Regions from separate parts of the Homo sapiens genome. Here all the other regions are linked to region 4. The links are contacts of gene promoters, found by promoter capture Hi-C in blood cells and fetal thymus (Javierre and others, 2016). All regions are on one chromosome and are shown on one strand. Each heading gives the region's core, a stretch centred on a gene start or on the middle of the fragment in contact. The rest is flanking DNA. Distances are from core to core; before and after follow the strand shown.

Region 1 (2,700 bases), core at 161-2,660, 450 kb after region 4:
TGTTAGAGAAGGAAAACATTTAGTCTCATTATTCTGAATGACAAATGCAGTGGAGGAGAAAGGATGGGCAACAATGATGCCAGGAGATTGGTTCATTTGAATCATGCTATACCCAACTCCCATAACTGTTCTGTGTTTCTGTTGACAGGACCAGGAAGAACAAGCTTACTTTGCAGTGTTTGATGGCCATGGGGGAGTAGATGCTGCTATTTATGCCTCCATTCACCTCCACGTTAACTTAGTCCGCCAGGAGATGTTCCCCCATGATCCTGCTGAGGCCCTGTGCAGGGCCTTCCGGGTCACTGATGAGCGGTTTGTGCAGAAAGCAGCCAGGGAGGTATGCCCCTTTCTCATAAGTTCCAGCTAGAAATGTACTAGCTGAGCTCAATTTGGTCTGTGTGGTTAAAGGGCTATTTAGATTTTCTCTTTCTGGGCAGACATTATCCAAACTGTATTCTTGACTCACAGTATTGGATTCTGTTGTAGTTCCAATTCCCTCCTCAGGAAGAGTTTCAGGGGGTACAATGAGGTACTGTATAGAAAATCTCAAGCTGTAATTTTCTGGATTCATTTCTGTAATAACTGCTGGATTTGGCAGGTGAGTTTCATCTTTCTTTTATTCACCATTGCCTGTCAGGTTCACACCAGGACCATCTCTCTAAGCAGACTCTTGCTGACAAGATCTGGATATGGTGAATAAAACAATGGTCTAAAAAAGAAACAGAAACTGGGATTACTTCCATACATTTGGTTCTAAATGGGTAGGCAGTGTTTTGCTGTGTATCTCTTGAGGGAAAATTCGCTTGGAGAGGGTGAATCCTTAAATGATCCTTGAGCTGATTTTTCTCTTAATAGGGAGAAAAGAAGAGCTCATGTCCTACATTGCGAAGGTTAATCAGACCTAAGTTTTTTTTACTTTGAATAAATGGCAAGGGCTCTATATTAAGGTCTAAAAGTAAAAAAATTAATCTAATTATCGTTCTGGGTATTGGTACATAATTAACTACAGTGTTCTATATTGGATTTTTAACTGGGGACGAATAAAAGAATTTTTAATTTTTAAAAATAATTACAGAAGTAGATACAGACAAAAAATAAGACTCCTGCCCTGTGACTTAAACATTAACTCTTTTTAAAATGGGCTTGGAGAGATCAGGGTAATCATTTAATCCATTTTTTGATAGCATAGTTATGCTACAAGCAATAATGGGGCTTAGAATTAATGAAACAATAACTCAGACCTATTTGGTATTAAGAAAGAGAATTATTCTTCATCTCTCCCCTCCCCTAAGTTTGGATTAATATGCAAATCCAACAGTAACCAGTAGAGTCCACACAAAGAGGTGGGTCTGGAGAATAAAGCCACTCTTGACCTCAGAGCTCCAGTCTCTTGAGGACCTGCATTCTGCTTGGCTCTGCCTCTCTTGAAGCTGTGGGCTTTTATCATCTGAGTCGAGGACAAGGGCCGGCCCCTGAGAGGTGACCCGTAATCATCAATGTGAAACAAAGAGATTCACTCTGTCTTCTTCATCCTCTATTCTATTCTTTTTTTCCTCTGTCTTCTCAAAATTATGTGTTGTTGTTGTTGTTGTTGTTTTCTGACCATGTTTACCTCATTTGTTTTGTCAGTGACCCTGGTGTCTCTCAGTTCTGCCAATAGTTCTGAATAATTTAGGTTTGTCTCAGCGCCCCTTTTCTCCTTCTTATGCTTCCATGTGCTGCTAACTGCTGGGAAGAAAACAGCTATTCCTGTTATGAAGCAGCCCTGCCTCCTGTTCTCTCCAGGGCATATGCACTGAAGTGTGTTTATCATGTGTTCTAGGGGGCTGAGTTTTTGAACATTCTGTGTGGGAAGACATTTTATTGGTGGGTGAGGATTTATAACAAACTTTCCCTATATAGGGAAAACGAGAAGTTGTTTTTCTCATTGGATACAAGAGACCTTTTACCACCCCTGACGCATTGGTTCTAATTTAGGCCAGGTCCTTAGTAACAGAAAGTCATGCTCATTTGGTGGTGACTCATGTCAAATGGGGATGTCATTTTCGTATAGTAGGACCAAGAGCTTTAAGTACAGTCGTAGCTACTGCAGTGAAATTCCAGGCTGTTAGTTCTTTATGCAATGTTCCAAAAGCAAAGACCCCTAAAAATACTGTAGGAAGGATATTTTTTTAAAGGTATAAGCATCTTAGTACTCCAGGGAACGTAAGCTGTCTCTTGGCCCCTTAGCTTAATTTCCAGAGATTAGAGCATCTGTTGTGTACCAATCAGATGTTTTATATATCATTTTATACAGCTAGGACTCTCCCACTGAACAAATACGATGTCAGTAATGAAATGGAGAGCAGAATATAGAAATTTTTACTCTGAGGATTGGTATAGAGGATTTAGTGCTTGACTGGGAGGAAAAAGAATTTCAATTCTGTCTTATATACTAATAGTTACCTGCCCTTGGGCAAGTCACATAACCTGCCATAGTTTTCTTATCTATATTTAAAGTGGAATTAATAATCATCCTCGCCCTGCATATCACAGATCAGGTGGACTTATGTGTGTATATACACATAAATACATACATGCATATACAAATGCATTGAGACAATGAATTATTATATATGTGTGAAATTCCATTATTAATAGTATAGCTCCCAGCTGAAAAGCTTAATTATAAATTGCTTCTCAATAAGAATGTAGTATCTA
Region 2 (2,700 bases), core at 1-2,500, 510 kb after region 4:
ATGTCTCCAGAAGCAGCACTGCTGCTTTTTATTTCTGAAAGTGTATTCTTTACATCAGTTTTCATACATCGAACTTCGGCCATTTGAGTTTTGAGTCTTTTTAGCATCTTTAAATCAGAGGGCACTCGCCACATTGCCTGTTGCTTCCTTTGGTCTTTATCTTTTCGAGAATATGATGCTTCAGAGAAATTGACAAGTCATGTTAACATAAACGTTAATATTAATGAAATCATTTGTACCATGAATATATGCAAATTTGATGTGTAAAATAAGCTAGCGTGCTTTACGTGGTATCAACAATAAAACATGCACTAAATTCCATTAATGAAAATAAAGATAAAGAATCCTACCTTATTCACACCTTCAGAGTTAGAATCTGAGTCACATCATACTCAAGTTCGAATTACACATTTAATTCTAAAAGTTTAAAAGCTGCCCTACTGCCTTGTGCTTTCTTCTTTAAACTTCTCCACTTTTCTGAAACTTTCTACAGAGCTTTTATTATGTTTATAATTGAAAAAAAAGACAAAGAAAAATCTAGAAACCAAATACTTTGTCAAATCTGCCATATATAACATTATATTAAAAATACATATTTCTGGCCAGGTGCAGTGGCTTATGCCTGTAATCCCAGCACTTCAGGAGGCTGAGGTGAGAGAATCGCTTGAGGCCAGAAGTTCAAGATCAGCCAGGGGAGCATAGTGACACCCTATCTGTACAAAAAAAAATTTTTTTATTAGAACTTCCATTTCTGATAATTTTCTCAGAACTGTCAGCTTTCTGAAATACGGTTTGAATCTAACCACTTCTAAAATAAAACAATAGCTCTCCATGCCTAGTATGAATAAATTCCTCCGGCTAGCATGCAAGTCCTTTCATAGAATGGACCCAACATGACTCTAGTTCTACTTACCACTATATGTACCTTAAAATCTGGTTCAACTAGATTACCTGATACCTTTTACAGTACTCCTTTACATGGTTAAGAACATGAAGTTAATCTGACAAATGTTCACTAAATATGTGTTAAATAAATACACAGAAAAAAATAAACATCAAAGCCCAAGCAGGCCACGTGCAGTGGCTCACGCCTATAATCCCAGCACACTTTGGGAGGCCGAGGCAGGTGGATCACTTGAGCTCAGGAGTTTTGAGACAAACCTGGCCAACATGGTGAAACCTGTCTCTACAAAAAATTGTAGAGCACTCCAGCCTGGGCAACAGAGTGAGACTCTGTCTCAAAAACAAACAAACAATCAATCAAACAAAAAATGACCCAAGCAAGCCTTTTCAATAAAAAGAAAGTCATATATTTCTGCACACTAGCTTTTATTAACATCCCTTCACTGAAAGGTATTTTCATTTGGCTTCCATGAGTATTTTTTCTCCTTTCTAAAAGCTCTTTATCTGGCTCATCTTCCTGACACTCAGTAAAAACAGATATTCATCAGGATTATGTTCCTGGCTCTCTTCTTTTAAAATATTCTTAAAACTCCTTTGCAATCTCACACCCTTGGTTTTAATTATCCAGTATCACCTCCAGAAAAATAACTGTCTGTATTCCAGTTCATTTTTTTTTTTCATGGAGTTTCACTCGTTGCCCAGGCTGGAGTGCAATGGCACGATCTCGGCTCACTGCAACCTCCGACTCCCAGGTTTAAGCCATTCTCCTGCCTCAGCTTCCCAGGTAGCTGGGATTACAGGCACCTGCCACAATGGCCGGCTAATTTTTTGTATTTTTAGTAGAGACAGGGTTTCACCATGTTGGCTAGGCTGGTCTCGAACTCCTGACCTCAGGTGATCCACCCGCCTCAGCCTCCCCAAGTGTTGAGATTACAGGCGTGAGCCACTGCGCCCAGCCCCAGTTCTTAATTTTTAGCTGTCTACTGGTCCTTTCTAATTTGATGTCACACTGTTATGCCCAACTCAAGATGTTTAAATCCAAAACTTGCTTTTTCTTTCTACTATTTTCCCCGCCCTCATTATTGCCAGCATTTTATCACCTAAATTTGAAATTCAGATCATCTCATTTGTATTGTTTTTACACAGAAAACTAGTTTTACACAGAAATCTTACTATTTAGTTTGCATTTTTCCCAATGATACTGATTATTTTCAAAAACACGATTTTACTTGTCTATAAAATATACCATTGCATGGTTACACTGTAATTTATTCAGCTATAACTGTATTGTTGAATATTTTTAAACATCTGCTTGTTTTCTCTTTGGAATATACTCCTCAAAGTGAAATTACAAGTTTAAAGGATATAGATATTTTTAAACTACTACAAAATTGTCCTTCAAAAAGGTTAAACCAACTTACATATCTACCTACAGAATCAGAACCTGTCTGTTTCACTGGGCCTTTGCAAACAACACTTAACATTTAAGTAAAACTTTATATAAAGCATACTTGGCGCACACATAAAAGGCAACTGTTTCATAACCTGAAGATAGTCTTTTAAGCTGAGGATCCAGACTTTCAGGAAGTATATCTGGCTCTTAGGAAAGAAGAAGCCTAAATAATCTGGGCTCCATGTCCCTACACCAGTAGAAGAGCTCTATTTCTCTGTTATTTACACAGAGGTTCTGCCTTGGACTTTGATTGAAAAATGAGTTATCTTGCCTTAAAACTACATCAAAATCAGAGTTCTAAATCATTGATTTGATGTATATAATACTATTGTTTAAGAAGGTAG
Region 3 (2,700 bases), core at 156-2,655, 470 kb after region 4:
CGCTTCAACCTGGGAGGTGGAGGTTCCAGTGAGCCGAGATAAAAAAAAAGTAATAATAAATAAATACCACCAATTCTACACCCTCTTTTCCAGAAAATAGAACACTCATTTTATGAGGTCAGCATTACTCTGACACCAAATCAGATGACGACAGAAAATTTCAGACCAGGATCGCTCTGAATATAGATGGAAAAGTTCTGGCAAAATATTAGCAAAACAAATACCATTACACACCTATTAGAATGGCTAAAAAATGGCTGGTTAGCTCAGTTGGTTAGAAGAAAAACCAAAAAGAATGGCTAAAAAACTTCTGGCAGTGCCAAATATTTGTGAGATGCCACTGGAACTCTCATGTGCTACTGATGGGAATGCAGAATGGTATGTCACTGTGGAGGTTGGGCAGCGTCTCAGTAAAGACTCTACTTACCATATGACTCAGTGCAATGAGTGCTGACACCAACCACCCGGAGTTAGGTCAAACTGTACAGGTTATGGGCAAAGTCTTCCACAAGACTGCCCTCATTCCAGACACAAGCTCCAAGTTCCGGGATCCTGAGGCCACCCTCACTTCTGATCAGCTGATTACAAATTTGGGCGTATTTGCTATCCTACTCATGTTTAATAATTGACTAGAACAACTCACAGAACTCAGAAATGCACTTATGATCAGAGTTTCATTATGACAAAAGGTTACAAATAAAGCCAGCTAAAGGGAGAGATACATAGGGTGAGGCCTGGGAGAGGCCCAAATGTGAAGGCCCCTTGACTTCAGGACAACTTACTCTCCAGGCACACTGATATATATATATATAAATATAAATATATATATATTTATATTTATATATATTTATATATATATAAATACATATGTAAATATATATATATATATATATAAATACAGAGTACTGTCAACCAGGGAAACTCACTCAAGCTTTAGTGTCCAGTTTTGAGACGGAGTTTCACTCTTTTTGCCCAGGCTGGAGTGCGATGGCACAATCTTGGTTCACGGCAACCTCCACCTCCCGGGTTCAAGTGATTCTTCTGCCTCAGTCTCCCAAGTAGTTGGGATTACAGGCATGCGCCACCACGCCTGGCTAGTTTTGTATTTTTAGTAAAGATAGGGTTTCTCCATGTTGGTCAGGCTGGTCTCGAACTCCCGACCTCAGGTAATCTGCCTTCCTCGGCCTCCCAAAGTGCTGGGATTACAGGCGTGAGCCACTGTGCCCGGCAGGTGTCCAGATTTTTTACTGGAACTTCCTTATGTAGGCATAACAATCATTGGCAATGAGTTGAACTGGGCTATCACATGGTTCAGAGCTCCAACTGTCTAATGACACCCACAGCATTTCTGGTGTAGCCAGCCCCGATCCTGAGTCATCTCATTAGCATACACTAGCAAGGCCCACCATAAATAACTCCTAACACTTGAGGAATGCCAAGGATTTAGAGGGCACTTCCCAGGAACTAGGACAAAGGCCAGACAAATTCTCTATTGCACACCCAGCAATCCTGTCCCTAGGCATATATGGTTTGGCTGTGTCCCCACCCAAATCTCATCTTGAATTCCCACATATCATGGGAGGGACCCAGTGGGAGGTAATTGAATCATGGGGGCAAGACTTTCCTGTGCTGTTTTTGTAATACTGAATAAGCCTCATGAGATCTGATGGTTTTATAAGGGGGAGTTTCCCTGCACAAGCTCTCGTCTGCCACCACATGAGATGTGCCTTTTACCTTTTGCCATGATTGTGAGGCCTCCCCAGCCACGTGGAACTGTAAGTCCAATAAACCTCTTTCTTTTGTAAAATGCCCAGTCTCGGGTATATCTTTATCAGCAGCATGAAAACAGACTAATACAGCATGTAACACTCTAGAGAATAAAAGCTTACACTCACACAAAAATCTGTACCCAAACGTTTACAAGAGTCTAATCACCCTAAACTAGAAATAACCCAAATGGGCAAATGAATGAACAGTGGTATATCCACACAGTGGACTACTACTGCTCAGCAATAAAAAAGAAGGAGGTGCTGATTCACACAAGATGAGTGAAACTTAACTGCACTTTGCGAAGCGAGAGGTCAAACTGTGATCCCGTTTACATGACTCTGGAAAAGCAAAAACTAAAAGGGCAGAGAACAGATCAGATCAGATCAGATCAGCGGTAGCCAGGAGCTGTGGGGAAGGGGGGTGGTTACCTATAAAGGGCCAGCACAGGGGAATCTTGGGGGTGACTGAAATGTTCTGTATAGTATTGTGGTGGCGGATACAAGACATTTGTTGAAACCCACAGAACTGTATGCCAGAAAGACTGAATTTTAATGTATGTAAATTTACAAATTAACCAGGATATGTGGGGGAGGACAGAATGTAGACCATAACAGATGAACCTGTTACACCAACGAAGCACAAAATCACAATGAAGGGATTTTGTGAAAGAACAGAACTAATGTAATTTTGAACCTAAATATCTTTGAAAAAAATGTTATGACACAATACTGAAAAGCTAAAGACTAAAAGAACTGTATACAAGCACTGTATTTTAGGTGGTAAATCTGTTTTTTGTAGGGCATAGCCTGGAATCCACAGGAGGCCAACGGTTCTGAAGCTACTTGTATATTAGGGTTGAACAAGTACATACATATATTGTAGCTAATGAGAGCTAGGCTTCTGTCAGAGAAAGGCATTATAAATAAGAGG
Region 4 (2,700 bases), core at 88-2,587:
GTCTTGATGGGTTCCTCCAACACTCACTTTGTATCGATAAACGACCCTGCAGTTCTTCACGACCTGCATTGCGCTGGCAGTCCTGAGTGAAGAACTCTCCTCTCATCCCAGAGATGGGAAACCTGGATCTGAGACTGCCAGCTAGCTGCGGCCTCCTAGTCTGTAAAGCGAAGGGAGACCAGGACGCTCCCAAGGACCCGGCTTATCGCCCCTCCCTTTCCTTCCCGGGGACCCAGAACAGACCACAAGACGGAGGGTGGCCGCTGGAGGTCGCCGTGGCCCCGCGATACCACCAACCGACAGAAATGGAGAACAGTTGATTCAGATTCAGCTGATATTCTCAGGTCTGGAGCGGGCCTGAGCGCTTTAATTAGCCCGGGGCTAATGTCCTCACCCATCTTTGTTTATAGAACGTTGAAACTCCAGTACTGTTGGTAAGTTCCAGGAAGACAGGAACTTTGCACTACTTGAACTCCAGGGTCTAGAACAGCCTGCAATCTAGCAGATGCTGTAAATTTTTTAATTAAATACTGAACTCCTGTAGGACGGTGATTGTGTTTTTATTCATTCCCAGCACTTACTATAGTGTTTGGTGATTACAATGGCTGCAGCATTTGTTCAAAGCTCTATCACAGGCTTTCTACAGTGTAGAGCTTAACCTGCCTATCCCTTTTCCCAGATCAGGGGAAACAGAAAGTCAGGAGGTTGCACGCAGTTAATACCTTGTGTTTTCCCAAGGGCAGGTATCAAATACAAAACTGCGTCCGCCGCAGCTGGAATACGCACAGGCATCAAAATGGGGCCTTTTGGGCCGGGCGCGGTGGCTCATGCCTGTAATCCCAGCACCTTGGGGGGCCGAGGCGGGCGGATCTCAAGGTCAGGAGATCGAGGTCATCCTGGCTAACACGGTGAAACCCCGTCTCTACTAAAAATACAAAAAATTAGTCGGGCGTGGTGGCGGGCGCCTGTAGTCCCAGCTACGGAGTCTTGTAGTCCCAGCTACGGAGCTTGCAGTGAGCCGAGATAGCGCCGTTGCACTCCAGCCTGGGCGACAGAGCGAGACTCCGCCTCAAAAAAAAAAAGGGCAGGGGGGACTTTTGGACAGTCCTTTAATATTGGGGAAGTGCCCCAAATTTCTTTTTCTTTTTATTTTTCTTTTTTTTTTTTGAGACGGAGTCTCGCCCTGTCACCCAGGCTGGAGTGCAGTGGCGCCATCTCAGCTCACTTCAAGCTCCGCCTCCCGGGTTCAGCCATTCTCCTGCCTCAGCCTCCCGAGTAGCTGGGACTACAGGCGCCCGCCACCACGCCCGGCTATTTTGTATTTTTAGTAGAGACAGGGTTTCACTTTCTCCTTAGCCAGGAGAAGTGCCCCAAATTTCTAATCCCTTAAGCCAGGACCTTGGTAGCCCTGAGGTGTGATGGGAGACTCTGGACAGAACCACCTGTTGACCTATCCAGGACCCAAATATGCACCACAGGTAGGAATCTTTTTATTACCAAAGGTACTGTATGTGTGAAAGATGGAGAGAGACCCAGACCCCAGATAACAGAGGCATGATAGATATGATCGTCAAGATGGAGAAGCCAGGCTGGATTCTAAGCAGGGACTTAGAAGGGGAAAGGAAGTGGAAAGTTTTCCCCACTCTCCCTTCCCTACTAAAAGCCAGAAACCAACATCTTCTACCATTAGCCTTTCAAAACTGGGTCCCAGGATCTTGATCTCCAGGTCATAAAAATACACACAGGGACACCAGAAGCCACCTACAGATTTATTAAACTTTATTTCCTCTGAGTCTCTGGGCAGTCAGCAGGGATGTAAGGCGAAGTGGCAGTAGCTGAAGGGGCCTGAGCAGAGCTGGTGCTGGGAGGGGCCGGCATGGACAGGAAGAAGAGGAGGAGATTTAAATATCCAGGGCTGAAAGCCAGTTAATAGTTCTCCTTCATCTGTTTTTGTATTTTGTGTAGCATCTCCTGCATCCGCCGCAGCTGGAATAGGCACAGGCATCAAAATGGGGACTTTTGGAGAGTCCTTTAGTATTGGGAAAGTGCCCCAAATTTCTAATCCCTTAAGCCAGAACCTTGGTAGCCGTGAGGTGTGATGGAGACTCTGGACAGAACCACCTATTGACCTATCCAGGACCCAAATATGCACCAGAGCCAGGGATCTTTCTATTACCAAACAAAGAGATACCAACGTTGGTGATCAAACAGGAGACCTCCCCTATACCCCATACTGCTCTCACCTCCTCATCTTTCTCTCGGATAAGCTTCTCAGTTTCTGGATCTGTCCCTGGTGGGACAGCAGGGATGGGGAAGTCGGTACCACTTTCCCGAGTCAGTTTGCTAAAGGGAGAAAAGGGTTGATAAGGCGAGGAGGACCCCAGCACCCGCTTAGATTGAGCCCAGGGCCTATAGAAGAACAAAAGTAGGGCTTGGTCTCACCCAAGGCTAGGCTTGGGATCTCCCCCTGCCAGCTTTGTCCTGGCTTCTGGTCATACTTGCGATTCCGTTCCTTCACCACCAGGCGGGTCATGCTCTGGATGCACTGTGCCCGGTAGTTCTCATAATGTGTCTCCCGTGTCACATCCTTCAGGTCCTGCATGTGGGTACGTACCAGCATTGTCCTCAGCTTCACAAAGTCGCAGTGCCCTGGGTTTTCCACTGCATAGCAAGGCTAGGGGTCAGCCAGAGGCATAGGTA
Region 5 (2,700 bases), core at 143-2,642, 430 kb after region 4:
TTCATTCAGCCAGTTTCTTTTAATTGGGAATTTTAACCATTTTACATTCAAGATTATTATTAATAGATGAGGACTTACTCCAGACATTTATTGACTGTTTTCTGAGTATTTTGTGTAACCTTTGTTCCTTCCCCTCCTATTATTTATTTTTGTGGTTGGGTTGTTTTCTGTAGTGATAAGATTATTTATTCCTTTCTCTTTCTTCTTTCTCTGTTGGCTCTCCTGGTGAATTTTATAATTTCACATATCTTCATGAGGGCAGTTATCATCTTTTTATTTCCAGATGTAAGACGCCCTTGAACATTTCTCTTGGACTAGACTAGTGGTGATGAATTCTCTTATTTTTTGCTTGTCCAGGAAAGATTTTATTTCTCCTTCATTTTTGAAGAATAGCTTTCCTGGGTATAATATTCTTGGCTAGCTGAGTTTTTTTTCTTTCTGTACTTTGACTATATCATCCCTTTCTCTCCTGGCCTGTGAAGTTTCTGCTGAGAAAGCTGCTGCTAGTCTAATGGAGATTCCCTTATATATGACTTGATGCTTTTCTTTTGAAAAGGAATTCTCTTTTAGAATTATTTCTTTGTCTTTACCTTTTGACAATTTGACAGCTGGGTGTGGTGGCTCATGCCTGTATTCCCAGCACTTTGGAAGGCCAAGGCAGGTGGATCACCTGAAGTTGAGAGTTTGAGACCAGCCTGACCAACATGGTGAAACCCTGTCTCTACTAAAAATACAAAAATTAGCTGGGCATGATGGCGGGTGCCTGTAATCCAAGCTACTCAGGAGGCTGAGGCAGGAGAATTGCTTGAACCCAGGAGACAGGTTGCAGTGAGCCGAAAATTGCACCATTGCACTCCAGCCTGGGCTACAAGAATGAAACTCTGTCTCAAAAAAAAAATTATTTTTTGACTATAATGTGCCTTAGAGAAGACTTGTTTGGGTTGAATCTATGTGGGAACTTTCCAGCTTCCTGGATCTGAATATCTGTGTCTCTCCCAAGACCTACGAAGTTTTCAGTTATTATGTCATTAAGTATATTTTCTACACCATCTCTCTTTTCTTCTCCTTCTGGAATGCCCATAATGCAATTATTTGTTTGCTTAATGGTGTCCCATAAATCCTATATGCTGTTTTCATTCTTTTTTCTTTTCTTTCTTTTTTTTTCTGCCTGAGTTTTTTCAAAAGACCTGTCTTCAAGTTCAAAAATTTTTTCTTCTGTTTGGTCTAGTCTGCTGTTGAAGCTCTTTATTGTATTTTTTATTTCATTCATTGAATTCTTCAGCTCTAAGATTCCTGTTTGGTTCTTTTTTTTTTTTTTTTTTTGAGACGGAGTCTTGCTCTGTCACCCAGGCTGGAGTGCAGCGGCGTGATCTCTGCTCACTGCAAGCTCCGCCTCCTGGGTTCACGCCATTCTCCTGCCTCAGCCTCCCCAGTAGCTGGGACTACAGGCGCCCGCCACCATGCCTGGCTAATTTTTTGTATTTTTAGTAGAGACGGGGTTTCACTGTGTTAGCCAGGATGGTCTCGATCTCCTGACCTCGTGATCTGCCCGCCTCGGCCTCCCAAAGTGCTGGGATTACAGGCGTGAGCCACCACACCTGGCCGGTTCTTTTTTAATGATATCTCTTTGTTGAATTTCTCTGATTTTTGTTAACTGTTCTATATGTATTCTCTTGTATCTCATTGCGTTTCCTTAACATGATTATTTTGAGCCACATGTGATGGCTCATGCCTATAGTCCTGGCTCCTTGGGAGGCTGCAGCAGGAGGATTGCCTGAGTCCAGGAGTTCTGGCCTATAGTGCATTATGCTAATCTGGTGTCTACACTAAGTTTGGCATCAATATGGTGACCTTCTGGGAGCAGAGAACCATCAGGTTGCTTAGGGAGGGATGAACCAGCTCAGGTCAGAAATAGAGCAGGTCAGCCAGGTGTGGTGGCTCACACCTATAATTTCAGCAATTTGGGAGACTGAGATGGGTGAATTGCTTGAGCTTAGGAGTTCGAGACCAGTCTGGGCAACATGGTGAAACCTCGTCTCTACAAAAAATACAAAAATTAGGCTGGTGGCTCATGCCTGTAGTTCCAGCTACTTGCGGGGGCTGAGGTGGGAGGATTGCTTAAGCCCAGGAGGTGGAGGTTGCAGTGAGCCAAGATTGTACCACTGCATTCCAGCCTGGGCAACAGAGTGAGACTCTCTTTAAAAAAAAAAAAAAAAAGAAAGAAAAATAAATGGAGCAGATCAAAACACATATGCCAATTAACAGTAGGATGCCTATGAATAGCCACTGCACTCCAGCCTATGCAGTATCGTGAGACCTTCATCTCAAATTTTTAAGAAAAGATTATTATTTTGAATTCTTTTTCTGGCATTTTATATATTCCTTACGATTGGGGTTTGTTCCTGGAAAATTATTGTGTGCATTTGGAGGAGTCATGTTTCCTCAATTTTTCACATTTGATGTGTCCCTATGTTGATTTCTACACATCTGGTGGAACAGTCACCTCTTCCAATCTTATGGAGTAGTTTTCATAGGGAAAGATTTAGTCATGTGGATGGGTCTTGGGGCATCAGTTGGATGGCTGCATTGGCTATGGTTCTAGGTGGACACAGTGTTGTAGTTTCTTTTGCTGTAATCTGCACTAGTGATGTTTGTGAGTATCCCAATGGCCTAGGCTGTTAGAGTTTATGGCAGAAGTCA

Evidence for each region. The method cuts DNA at HindIII sites, captures the fragments that hold promoters and counts their contacts. A CHiCAGO score of 5 or more calls a contact.
Region 1: a fragment that was not itself captured here is called in contact with the fragment with the promoter of SEPTIN4-AS1 in region 4 in 7 of 17 cell types (M0 macrophages, M2 macrophages, total CD8 T cells and 4 more); the score reaches 8.6 in M0 macrophages.
Region 2: a fragment that was not itself captured here is called in contact with the fragment with the promoter of SEPTIN4-AS1 in region 4 in 6 of 17 cell types (M0 macrophages, M1 macrophages, activated CD4 T cells and 3 more); the score reaches 7.0 in M0 macrophages.
Region 3: a contact is called between a fragment that was not itself captured here and the fragment with the promoter of SEPTIN4-AS1 in region 4, in 6 of 17 cell types (non-activated CD4 T cells, naive CD4 T cells, total CD8 T cells and 3 more). The highest score is 7.3, in non-activated CD4 T cells.
Region 5: a fragment that was not itself captured here is called in contact with the fragment with the promoter of SEPTIN4-AS1 in region 4 in 1 of 17 cell types (M0 macrophages); the score reaches 6.3 in M0 macrophages.

Annotation. Positions count from the first base shown.
Region 1 is chr17:58,969,391-58,972,090 of GRCh38, forward strand. It overlaps PPM1E (protein phosphatase, Mg2+/Mn2+ dependent 1E), which reads left to right. Exons shown (of 7, transcript NM_014906.5): 4 at 149-337. It also overlaps a transcript of TRIM37 not described here. Among named protein-coding and RNA genes, the nearest start is that of TRIM37, 140 kb to the right of the region's middle. The HindIII fragment of the contact is 2,496 bases long and covers 163-2,658 here.
Region 2 is chr17:59,028,546-59,031,245 of GRCh38, forward strand. It overlaps TRIM37 (tripartite motif containing 37), which reads right to left. Exons shown (of 24, transcript NM_015294.6): 19 at 1-178. Among named protein-coding and RNA genes, the nearest start is that of TRIM37, 77 kb to the right of the region's middle. The HindIII fragment of the contact is 6,930 bases long and covers 1-2,700 here.
Region 3 is chr17:58,991,450-58,994,149 of GRCh38, forward strand. It overlaps a transcript of TRIM37 not described here. Among named protein-coding and RNA genes, the nearest start is that of TRIM37, 110 kb to the right of the region's middle. RefSeq lists a silencer at 2,048-2,248. The HindIII fragment of the contact is 953 bases long and covers 930-1,882 here.
Region 4 is chr17:58,518,500-58,521,199 of GRCh38, forward strand. SEPTIN4-AS1 (SEPTIN4 antisense RNA 1) reads left to right here and starts at 1,338. Exons shown (of 5, transcript NR_110810.1): 1 at 1,338-1,478. It overlaps SEPTIN4 (septin 4), which reads right to left. Exons shown (of 14, transcript NM_001368771.2): 12 at 2,499-2,661; 13 at 2,244-2,343; 14 at 1,757-1,986. The coding sequence ends at 1,927. It also overlaps a transcript of MTMR4 not described here. RefSeq lists enhancers at 1-642, 1-89. The HindIII fragment of the contact is 4,387 bases long and covers 1-2,265 here.
Region 5 is chr17:58,949,474-58,952,173 of GRCh38, forward strand. All of the region lies in intron 1 of PPM1E (protein phosphatase, Mg2+/Mn2+ dependent 1E), which reads left to right. Among named protein-coding and RNA genes, the nearest start is that of TRIM37, 160 kb to the right of the region's middle. The HindIII fragment of the contact is 4,948 bases long and covers 1-2,700 here.